Linked DNA regions of Homo sapiens: region 2 is linked to region 1. Evidence: promoter capture Hi-C in 16 types of primary human blood cells and fetal thymus (Javierre and others, 2016). All regions are on one chromosome and are shown on one strand. The core of a region is centred on a gene start or on the middle of the fragment in contact, and the rest is flanking DNA. Distances in the headings are between cores, read along the strand shown.

Evidence for each region. Contacts are between HindIII fragments. The CHiCAGO score rates a contact against its expected background, and 5 or more counts as called.
Region 2: a fragment that was not itself captured here is called in contact with the fragment with the promoter of USH2A in region 1 in 1 of 17 cell types (M0 macrophages); the score reaches 6.1 in M0 macrophages.

The regions. Positions count from the first base shown.
Region 1 is chr1:216,420,585-216,425,606 of GRCh38, forward strand. It overlaps USH2A (usherin), which reads right to left and starts at 2,864. Exons shown (of 72, transcript NM_206933.4): 1 at 2,630-2,864; 2 at 1,268-1,956. The coding sequence starts at 1,752. The HindIII fragment of the contact is 1,632 bases long and covers 1,243-2,874 here.
Region 2 is chr1:218,051,547-218,056,440 of GRCh38, forward strand. All of the region lies in intron 3 of LINC01653 (long intergenic non-protein coding RNA 1653), which reads left to right. Among named protein-coding and RNA genes, the nearest start is that of LINC01653, 10 kb to the left of the region's middle. The HindIII fragment of the contact is 1,728 bases long and covers 2,457-4,184 here.

The DNA of each region.
Region 1 (5,022 bases), core at 1,614-4,113:
TTTATACAAAATGATGTCAATAGAAGATGAATTTGGTACAGATATGTCCCTACAAGCTCAGAAGGATATTTTATCTTAGCCCTATTTGTCAAAAGACAATGTTTTAAGACTCTTCAGATGTTAATTATATAAACTGAGTAGCTTGAATTTACTAGAATTTCAAACAGTAAGAAAACAAGGTTTTCTTTGAGGAGAGATGTAGAAATGGGAATGGTTTGTGATTAATTTTGTGATTAATCCAAATTTAAAACAAAATGAAGACATGCCAACTTTCACTTGGCAAATTGAAACTAAACACCAAAAACATTTAAGTCCTATTTGCTTATGAGATTGTAATCCTTTTCTGGTTTGTTTCACAAGTTTTTAGATATCCAGCCAACGCTGTCACACACAGAAAATGTCACAAGAGAAAGGGCCAAAAGCCCTCTAGGAAGAAAAAAGATAAGCAAAAATTCCTCAAAACTGTCCTGTATATTAAAATCTCCAGGTTGGCAATAAATATTTAGAAGAAACTCATTAGATATCAGCTTGAGAAAAGATTACAGAATGAAAAACTGGTGATTAAATAACAAAAAATGGCAGTAATAAGACCCAGACTCATTGAAGGCATTTCTCTGGGATGAACAGCATGAAAGCTTTTGAGAATCTCTCACACTTACCTACATATTTCCTAACTAATTGGAAAATGAAAATACCACAAGATAAAGAACTAAAAGCTATATGTTTTTAGAGATGGAGGGTTATTTATATATTCAATTTATATTACTGAACATCTTCCATGAGTCAAACAAACAGCTCTTCTTGGGGAAACGAGGATGAAGAAAACAGTCCCAAGGACTGGGAGAACTATCTGCCTAATGAAAATGTTATACCCTAGTAAGGAAATGTTGATTATATAAACCCAGTTCAAGATTTTGAAAATATTAATTATTTGTATTAATTACAAGTTTCCATGCCTTAAAACTCACTCTGAGTCTTCTTTAGGCTTTGAAGGCTAAGACCAAAGGTCGCGCTAAGCTATAGAAAATAAATGATTCCTGCATAAACACATTTGCCTTTGATAAACTATTTTCACATTTTTTTTCATGGTCCATTTCATCCATAGAAGAGAAAAAAATTTTAATTGGGGAAACAACTGGAAGAGTTAGTCTTCAATACCATGAATTCTATATAGCCTTCACTTCCGGTTTGGAATTCAGGCTGAAATGATCTTCACTACTACTGGTTTTGGGGACCTATGAAAGCTTATACCTACACTACTACTTACATTACACCTTGTTGCTCAGGTTTCAGCCATACAGCTAAGGTAAATGATGCCATCAGCTTTGGAGAAGGAGGAGAAGAAAAGCAGCTCTTGTGATTTCCAAAAATAAAACTTGCAGAATTGCTATGGGCGTTAGGATGCAGATCATTCTTGTCTGGTGTGATGCAGCTACTGAGGCCTGCTGAGAAAAGGGCAGTGTAGGTAGGGTGTGAAGATCTGTATGGGCAATCCTGAATACAAAACCGCTGGGTACAGAACTGAATACTTTCAGCAGCAGCAGAGCTGTGACAAAAAGTGCTTCGGTCTGGGAGTCCACATACTGCTTGGGTTGGCACGATGGAAACTTTCTTGAAAGCTCCCACGTTCTCCAGCCTTGGGAAAAGACCTCGTGACTCAGTCAAGGATATTGAAGCAAAATAGGCAAAGATCAACATTTCAATGACCTGAAACAAGAAGCCAGAGCCCAATGAAAGAACTGGGCAATTCATGTTTACAAAAAAGCATTCTCCTCCTGATAAAGCATTTCTAAATAAATAATCAGGCCCACGCCACTTGCCAGCAATACTTTGAAGCAGGGTACTTTAAGTGATGTTGCGATACTCCATTTTCTGGAAACTGCAGACACGTTCTCAGAGTAAGGTAATACCAACGACGTTCTTAGCAATGGCGAAGACATGAGTAGCTGCTGGTATCTGGGAATCAAAAACGTAGGGCGTCAAGGGAAAGCTGCTGCACCTTTAAAACTGAAGCTCATCCCAGGCCTGAGGACTTTGAGCTCCTAGAAGCAACACTACTGAACTTCTCAAAAAACATTTTGAAGCACAGTGCTCAGAGTAAAATACTCATCCTTTTGGTAAATCTCTTGATTGCATTGGGCAAATCAAGCACTTTATAAGTCCACAGGACAACCAGTAATATTTATAACCAGTTATACATAAATATTTATATAATATATGTGTGTGTTTTATATATATATAATTATTAATAATATATTACACATACAATAATTTTGTGTTGTTACTTCACCCCAGGGAATTAGCAATGGCATTACCAGCTCTACTTAACAGGGAAAAGAATCTTGTAGATTTTCTTTACACATGCACTGTACATTGTAACCCAGAGCTAACTTACAGATGCCCAAAATAAAGCTGGCAAAGGACTTTGGGCCTTTCCCCTTATCCCAGCATGTGCAGCAACTTTAAGCTCAGAGTAAAGCTGATTAGAAACCCAACACCATCTGTCTGTCCTATGCTTTAATATTTAGCAAAATGTTTCTGTGTTTCCTCATATGACTATGAATTTGTAGGTTACACATGGATCCCTAATACTGTGCAAGTAATTGTATTGATAAATAAGCTGAGTTACCATTTCTTTATTGCATTTCAACCAGTCCCCTCAGTGTGACAAATGGCTCTTCAACAGGACCGCTGTCCCTCGTTGCCTGGCAACGCTGCTGTAACCCCTGGTTACTCAGCAAATAGGCTGTAGCAGCAGGAATGCTGGAAGGAAGACTTGGGTGCCCAGGTAAAGTATTCTGCAGAGCAAACACTTGGTTACCTGAAGCTCAGAGCGTGGTCTGCTTGGTGGCCCTCTTGGAACTGAGCTGCCCAAGCTTTCCGCTGGTACCTCAAGCAGTGGGAGGGACCTGGATGGGATCATGCATACATAATTTTAAAGTAGCAGTACACCTTATCCTATAATCCCCCCTCTTGCCCCTCCTCTTTCTTGCTCTCATGCACCTCAATCCATTTAATTCCTTAATCAAAATGATCTACCACTATTAAACACCACACAAGGAATAATTTCCAGTGCTCTTTCTTTTTGGGGGAGAAGAGGATACAAAATGGAATTCTAAACTTTTATATATTGATGCTCCCAAAGCTTGGCCCATTGATAGAAGTTTCGGTTGACTATTCAGTTGTTGCTGTACCTTTCACCCAGGATAACCTCTCCATAATACATGCTTCCTTACATTATGAGTAGCATCTGATGTGATCTCTAAATGTTGGGTTTGGAAAATCAGTGACTTTAATTAAACTAAAGAAGCAATGGGATTGCTGACTTTTTGGCTGCTTAATTGGATAGGAACGTGTGTGTGTGTGTATATGTGCACATTTGCCACCAATTCTATAGAGTTTCAATTATATCCAAAACTCTCTCTACTCTGCCATCTGGGACATCTCATCCTAGATGAGAAATATTCTAAATCAGCTAATACTTGTAGCTTTCCCTTTGTATTGTAAAAATGGAAAATTTGTTTGGGAAATAACTGGTCGATTGTGATTTTGTTCTCTATAAGTTATCTTTTTTATAGAAATGTTTAGAAATGAGAGAAATGTTTCATGGTGTTTCTTGTTAGTAAAGCAGCCAGAGAAAAACCAACATTGTTCTTTATTAGATTCCCTTTTATTTCTCTCCCAGAAGAGAGCTGGAAACCACAACCCATTTATATATCAATTTTATCAATTAGCATTAGTTGCTTCCAGAAGAAGCCTTTCTCACCCTTTGTCAAAATACGCTATTACATTCTTACCAGAAAAACTTTAATTTAAAACAAATTTTAGGGCAAAGCACAATGGCTCATGCTTGTGCCTCCTAGGGATTTGGGAGGCCAAGGTGGGAGGATTGCTTGAAGCCAGGAGTTCAAGACCATGCTGTGCAACATAGTGAAATCCCACGTCTCCAAAAAAAAAATAAAAATAAAAATAAAAATAAAAAAATTTAAGCCAGGCATGGTGGCACACACTCGTAGTCCCAGCTACTTAGGATGCTGAGGTGGGAGGGTTGTTGAGCCCAGGATTTCGAGGCTGCAGTAAACTATTATCACACCACCACTGCACTTTAACCTGGATGACAGAGTGAGACCATGTCTCTAAAAAAAAATTTTTTTAAACCCAAATTTTAGTATAAAGTCAGCTAATATGTAAGGACTTCTCAGAACTTGGGAAACTATCTTTGAAAATAGGTATTATAGAGCACAGTGAATTAGACAAATGGATTATTCAGACCTGCTACAAAACATGAAGTCAACCTACTTTCAAACAAGGTATTCAATGGCTGGCTTCTCTTTATATCTTGTGAATCCAAGAACTAATTCTCATTTTTTCTAAACTTTTATTTTAGGTTCAGGGGTACATTTGGAGGTTTGTTATATAGGTAAATTGTGTGTCATGGGGGTTAGATGTACAGATTATGTCATCATCCAGGTAATAAGCACAGTACCTGATAGGTAGTTTTTCAATCTTCCACCTCCTCCCACCCTTCAGCCTCAAGTAGGTCCTAGAGTCTGTAGAGTCTGTTGTTCCCTTCTACGTGTCCATGTCTAACTCTAATTTTTTACTGTAGTGCTTCAACTTATCTTTGTCATTCCTGGGATAAAAATTCTTCTACCCCATAACAACTCCTGCTTTGTATAGTAGGAAATCATGACTCAAATGGATAATCTAAGATTAGCAACTCTAGTCCACATTAAGAAACTCTGCCTATTATTTGCAAAGGCAAACAATGGATTCACATATCCCTCAACCTTTGCAATTCAGGGCTATCAATCCTGAGGGTGCATCTGATAAATGAATTAGACACTAAGAGTTCCATCACCCCTATAAGTGCCTGGGAAATAAGTACAGATTTTTTAAAAGGAAAGTAGATGTATATGGAGGGCACCTCTAGTTAAACATATGTAGCCATGGGCTATTTCCTTTCTTGACATTTCTGTGGATTCACCAGGTAGTTCTGGTCTGCATAAGCTTGTCTGGGGC
Region 2 (4,894 bases), core at 2,071-4,570, 1.6 Mb after region 1:
AAAAACAGAAGAGCAATGCTTTCACCATCTCAGATACTGGCAAAATGTGAAATTGACATTGTTCCTACTTCCTATAATACCTAAAAAATAGCTCAACTCTCAGCTTTGAGTCTATAATTTATGAATTTAGTTATGTGAATGTGTAGGTGCCCTCTTTATTCTTTCCTCCAAACCCCTCTGCCTGCCCTTGCTAAGCTATTTACTGCCCCTTATCCCATCATACCTACATTTGGGCTTGGAGAAAAAAAAAATAAAGGAGAGAGAAAGGAGGGAAGAGACACAAAGTAGATACATTTAAACTTACATTCTGCCCCAGTGGTCAAGAGAATGAACGGCACAGAAGACACCAGGAATCCAAAAGCTTCTTTCTTTCTGCCTCAACTACCACCTTCCCAAAGTAGATGACAAAGTGGATTTATATAATCCACTAATGTTTATTGAGTTCCTGCTGCATAGGAGGTCTGTGCACTGAATAGGAGGCCTGTGGCCTTCTCACCTCAAATGTTGGGTTAGGAAATTTAACATAATCAGTTAGAAATATTTGCCAATAAGTCCCAAAGTGCCAATAATTACATAGGTTTGCAAAAGCAAATATATATATATATATATATATATATATATAATATAAACATTTTGTTTTCACTTTACATGTTGTCTAATGTATTAGAGTATGAAATCAAGATAGCTGGATTATTGTTCATAATCACAGCAAATATTTGAGCTACCCTGTCCTATAACACTAGTGACAAAAAGCATTTTGACATGCATTCAATATTTTGTTAGGCTGAAAGAAAGAAAATGTGGAGACAGCATCACAAGAAGCTGACAAAGTCAGGCATCACGTAGGACACGCAGCAAAACTACATTTCCCAGATTGCCATGCAGTTAAGTTGCTGTGGGCTAAATTGTAGCTAATGAAGTGTGGACAGATATTACATAAGTCACTTCCAGGTCTGGCCCTAAAAACATTTTGTTGAGTCTCAGCTCTCTCTTTCCTTTCCTCAGTAACCTTGGGGCCACAAGCATCAGATTGTGTAGCTAAGAAATGAGGAAGGGCCGGGCGCGTGCCTCACACCTGTAACCCCAGCACTTTGGGAGGCCGACGTGGGCGGATCACGAGGTCAAGAGTTTGAGACTATCCTGGCCAACATGGTGAAACCCCGTCTCTACTAAAAATACAAAAATTTGCTGGGGGTGGTGGCATGAGCCTGTAGTCCCAGCTACTTGGGAGGCTGAGGCAGGAGAATCGCTTGCACCCGGAAGGCAGAGTTTGCAGTCAGCCAAGATTACACCACTGCACTCCAGCCTGGCGACAGAGCGAGACCCCATCTCAAAAAAAAAAAAAGAAAAGAAAAAGAAATGAGGAAGTGCAGTATGAGACTGTAACATACAACTTTTAGTATGTTCAGCCACCAAGATGTCAGTTTGTCTGTTGTGGCTGCTGGTTAAATTACCCTTCATAATGCAGAAGAGGAGACACAAGCAGGAGTGATTCAAAAATATATAAATCCCTCATTGGTACAGCCAGACATTAGTTCTACAGAATTCTCATAACTACAGAGCTGCTTTTTCTCCTGCTGCTCAGAGAATAACAAAAATTAAAGCTGAGCAAATTAAATAGTGAATTAGGACAGAATGAGACAGAAGATGCACCCATTAGGATCAATGAGAAGCAGACAGTAACTTTTCTAAGGAAAATACATTAAATGAGCAGCTGAGGAGTTCAATACTAAGACACTTAGTTCCACAGACTAGCTGCCTGGGAAGTGGGGAAAGTTGGGGGATGACTTTCAGACATAATTACAAAGGCAAATGCCAAGAAAAGCTGAAATGCTGAAAGTAGGGGGAGCTGAGGCAGGAGGATTGCTTAAGCCCAGGAGGTCGAGTCCACCCTGGGCAACACAGCAATAAAAACAAAAACAAAACAAAAAAACAAGTTAAGGTACGGCCAGGAGCGTGGTTCACACCTGTAATCCCAGAAATTTAGGAGGCCAAGGAGGGTAGATCACTTGAGGCCAGGAGTTTGAGACCAGCCTGAGCAATATGGTGAAACCCTGTCTCTACTAAAAATACAAAAATTAGCTGGAAGTGGTGGCAGGTGCCTGTAATCCCAGCTACCTGGGAGACTGAGGCAGGAGAATCACTTGAACCTGGGAGGTGAAGGTTGCAGTGAGCCAAGATCACGCCACTGCATTCCAGCCTGCGCAACAGAGTAAGGCTCCATCTCCAAAAAAAAAAAAAAAAAAAAAACAAGAAGTTAAGGTACATTTGGAAATTATAATGACTAATGATATTATAGATAAAATAATAATTATTATAATACCCCTTATTTAAATTAATGGATATATCACATTGCAAACACCATGTCTATTAACATAGTTATGTATTTGGCTTCTTTTTCTTTTCTTTTTTCTTTTTTTAGCTGGGGCCTCACTGTGCTGCCCAGCCTAGTCTCAAGCTTCTGGGCTCAAAGGATCAAGATATCCTCTCACTGTATCCTCCTAAGTAGCTGGGCTGATAACCACCAGCCATCACACCCAGCTCATATTTGGAGTCTTATTTCTTTTATTTATATATTTACACATTTTTATTTGTACTCACACATACATATTAGAATTAGTATCACACACCCAAGGCTATTCTGTTTCATTAATCTGTCAGTATTTAGTGCCAAGACAGCTTTTGTTTTTAAAACCCTTATTGGGTTTTATTTTGGAAACTATGAAAAATGTGTACTATTTTGGGGATTATTAAAAAACTCTTTGTAGACTATTTGGAAAATAAGGAAAAGTATTTTAAAAAATCTCTCCTACCACCTAGATAATATATTAACATTCCTGTGAATGTGTGTATGCCAATTATGTAAATTATAGCCAAATTGAAAGCATACTTTTTATTCAGATTTGTTTTGTGATTTTTTTCTCCTACCATTTACTTGTTATTAAAAACTCCATTGGTTTTCCAACTCGGTGAGAGCTAAATCTAAATCTATGTACAATGGGTACGCTGGCTACAGGTGTGCCCGGATGTTGACTCCCTCAGCTAACAGAGCTACTCAGTGGGGCCTGCGGCTGCTGGCAGGCTCATCCATTTATGCCAGTGTGTTGTAGAAACAGAATTTTCTCTGCCATAACATGAAAAACCTTCAGAAACATTCTAGTCTAGTATCATCTCTCTCAGTAAACATTTCTGGATATTTGCATTAAATTTGTTAACGATACTTATAATTACTGGGGTTTTTTTGTTTTGTTTTCATTTTTTTGTTTTTAAAAAGAGTCTTGCTCTGTCGCCCAGGCTGGAGTGCAGTGATGTCACCATAGCTCACTGCAGACTAAACCTCCTAGGCTCAAGCACTCCTTCCACCTCAGCCTCCCAAGTAGCTGGGACTACAGAAGTGTGCCACTGCACCCTGGAGATTTTGAAATTTTTTTTTTGTAGAGACAGGATCTCACTATGCTGTCCAGGCTGGTCTCGAACTCCTGGGCTCAAGTGATCCTCCCATGACCTGCACCAGGCCTCTACTTATTGTTTATTGTAATAATGCATTAGCTCTGTTTAATCACCATTCATTTATGTTATACCATTCTGATGCTTTAATTCATTTTTCATTTTGCTTGAGTTTATCTTTATGGTATTTCTTCTTAGACAAGGTATAAAAGTGGCATATTTTTGAGCCCTTCTTAAGCTGAGAGCCTTTTTGGCTTAGCACATGAGTGATAAGTTGGCTTGCTATTTAATTCGTAAGTGGCAATCTGTTTCCCTATCATCTTTTGTCATTGAATGTGGTAGAAGAGAAGTCTGAAGCCAGTTTCTTTATGGAAACCTAGCTTTTCTATTTGGATGCTTACAGTTATTATTGCAATTATTCTTAAAATTCAAAATTTTTCCTAGTATATGGGTATACTAGGAAATATGATAGTTTGATTAAAAGAAATCAAAATTACCTAGATTTTAAACATCCCTTACAATTTTAGATTGGTATTTATTGAGCTTGGAATTGTTTTCTATTATAACTGTGATTAGTTCTATCTTTCTGATCTATCCCTCTGGAATATAATTAGTTAATTTGTTAATTATACAATTGTTTGTTGAGTACCTATTATGTATCATCATACCCTGTGTTAGGGCAGGGTGGACATAGTGGTGGACAAGAAAGAGTTGTTGCTTCCTTCATTGATTTCAGAAGCTTAATAAGCAAAGTTATTCCTAACAATTGAGGCACAGTATAGGATCCTAACTCCTAGGAAGATGCATATTTATAATACTTGGTAGGAGTATTCATTCTTCATTCTCTGTGTCTGCCCTCTTATTTTGTTTTATATCTATGTCATTATGCTTTGCATTTTACACTACTCTTTCAGGCTTTTCTCCCTCATCTTTATTTGTTTATTTATTTATTTATTTCCTGAGACAGGGTGTCACTCTGTTGCCCAGTCTGAAATGCAGTGGTGCCATCTCAGCTTATTGCAGCCTTCACCTCCCAGGCTCCAGTGATCCTCCCACCTTAGCTTCTCAAATAGCTGGGACCAGGCGCCACCACGCCTGGCTAATTTTTGTATTTTTTTGTTTTGTGAAGATAGGGTTTTGCATGTTGCCTAGGATGTTCTCAAACTTCTGGCTGAAGCAATCCACCCACCTCAGCCTCCCAAAGTTCTGGGATTACAGGCGTTAGCCACTGCACCCAGCCTCTCAACACTCTTTAAAGTTTCTGAAGTTTCATTTCTACTCTTAAGTAGTTTTTAGTATACTTTAGGGTTGCACAACCATCACCACAATTTATCTAATCTTGGATACTTGGAACCCTTTTATCACCCCCCAAAAGAAACCCCGTACCTATTAGCAGCCGCTCCCCACCCTCAAACCACCCCCAGCCTTTGGAAAGCACTCATCCACT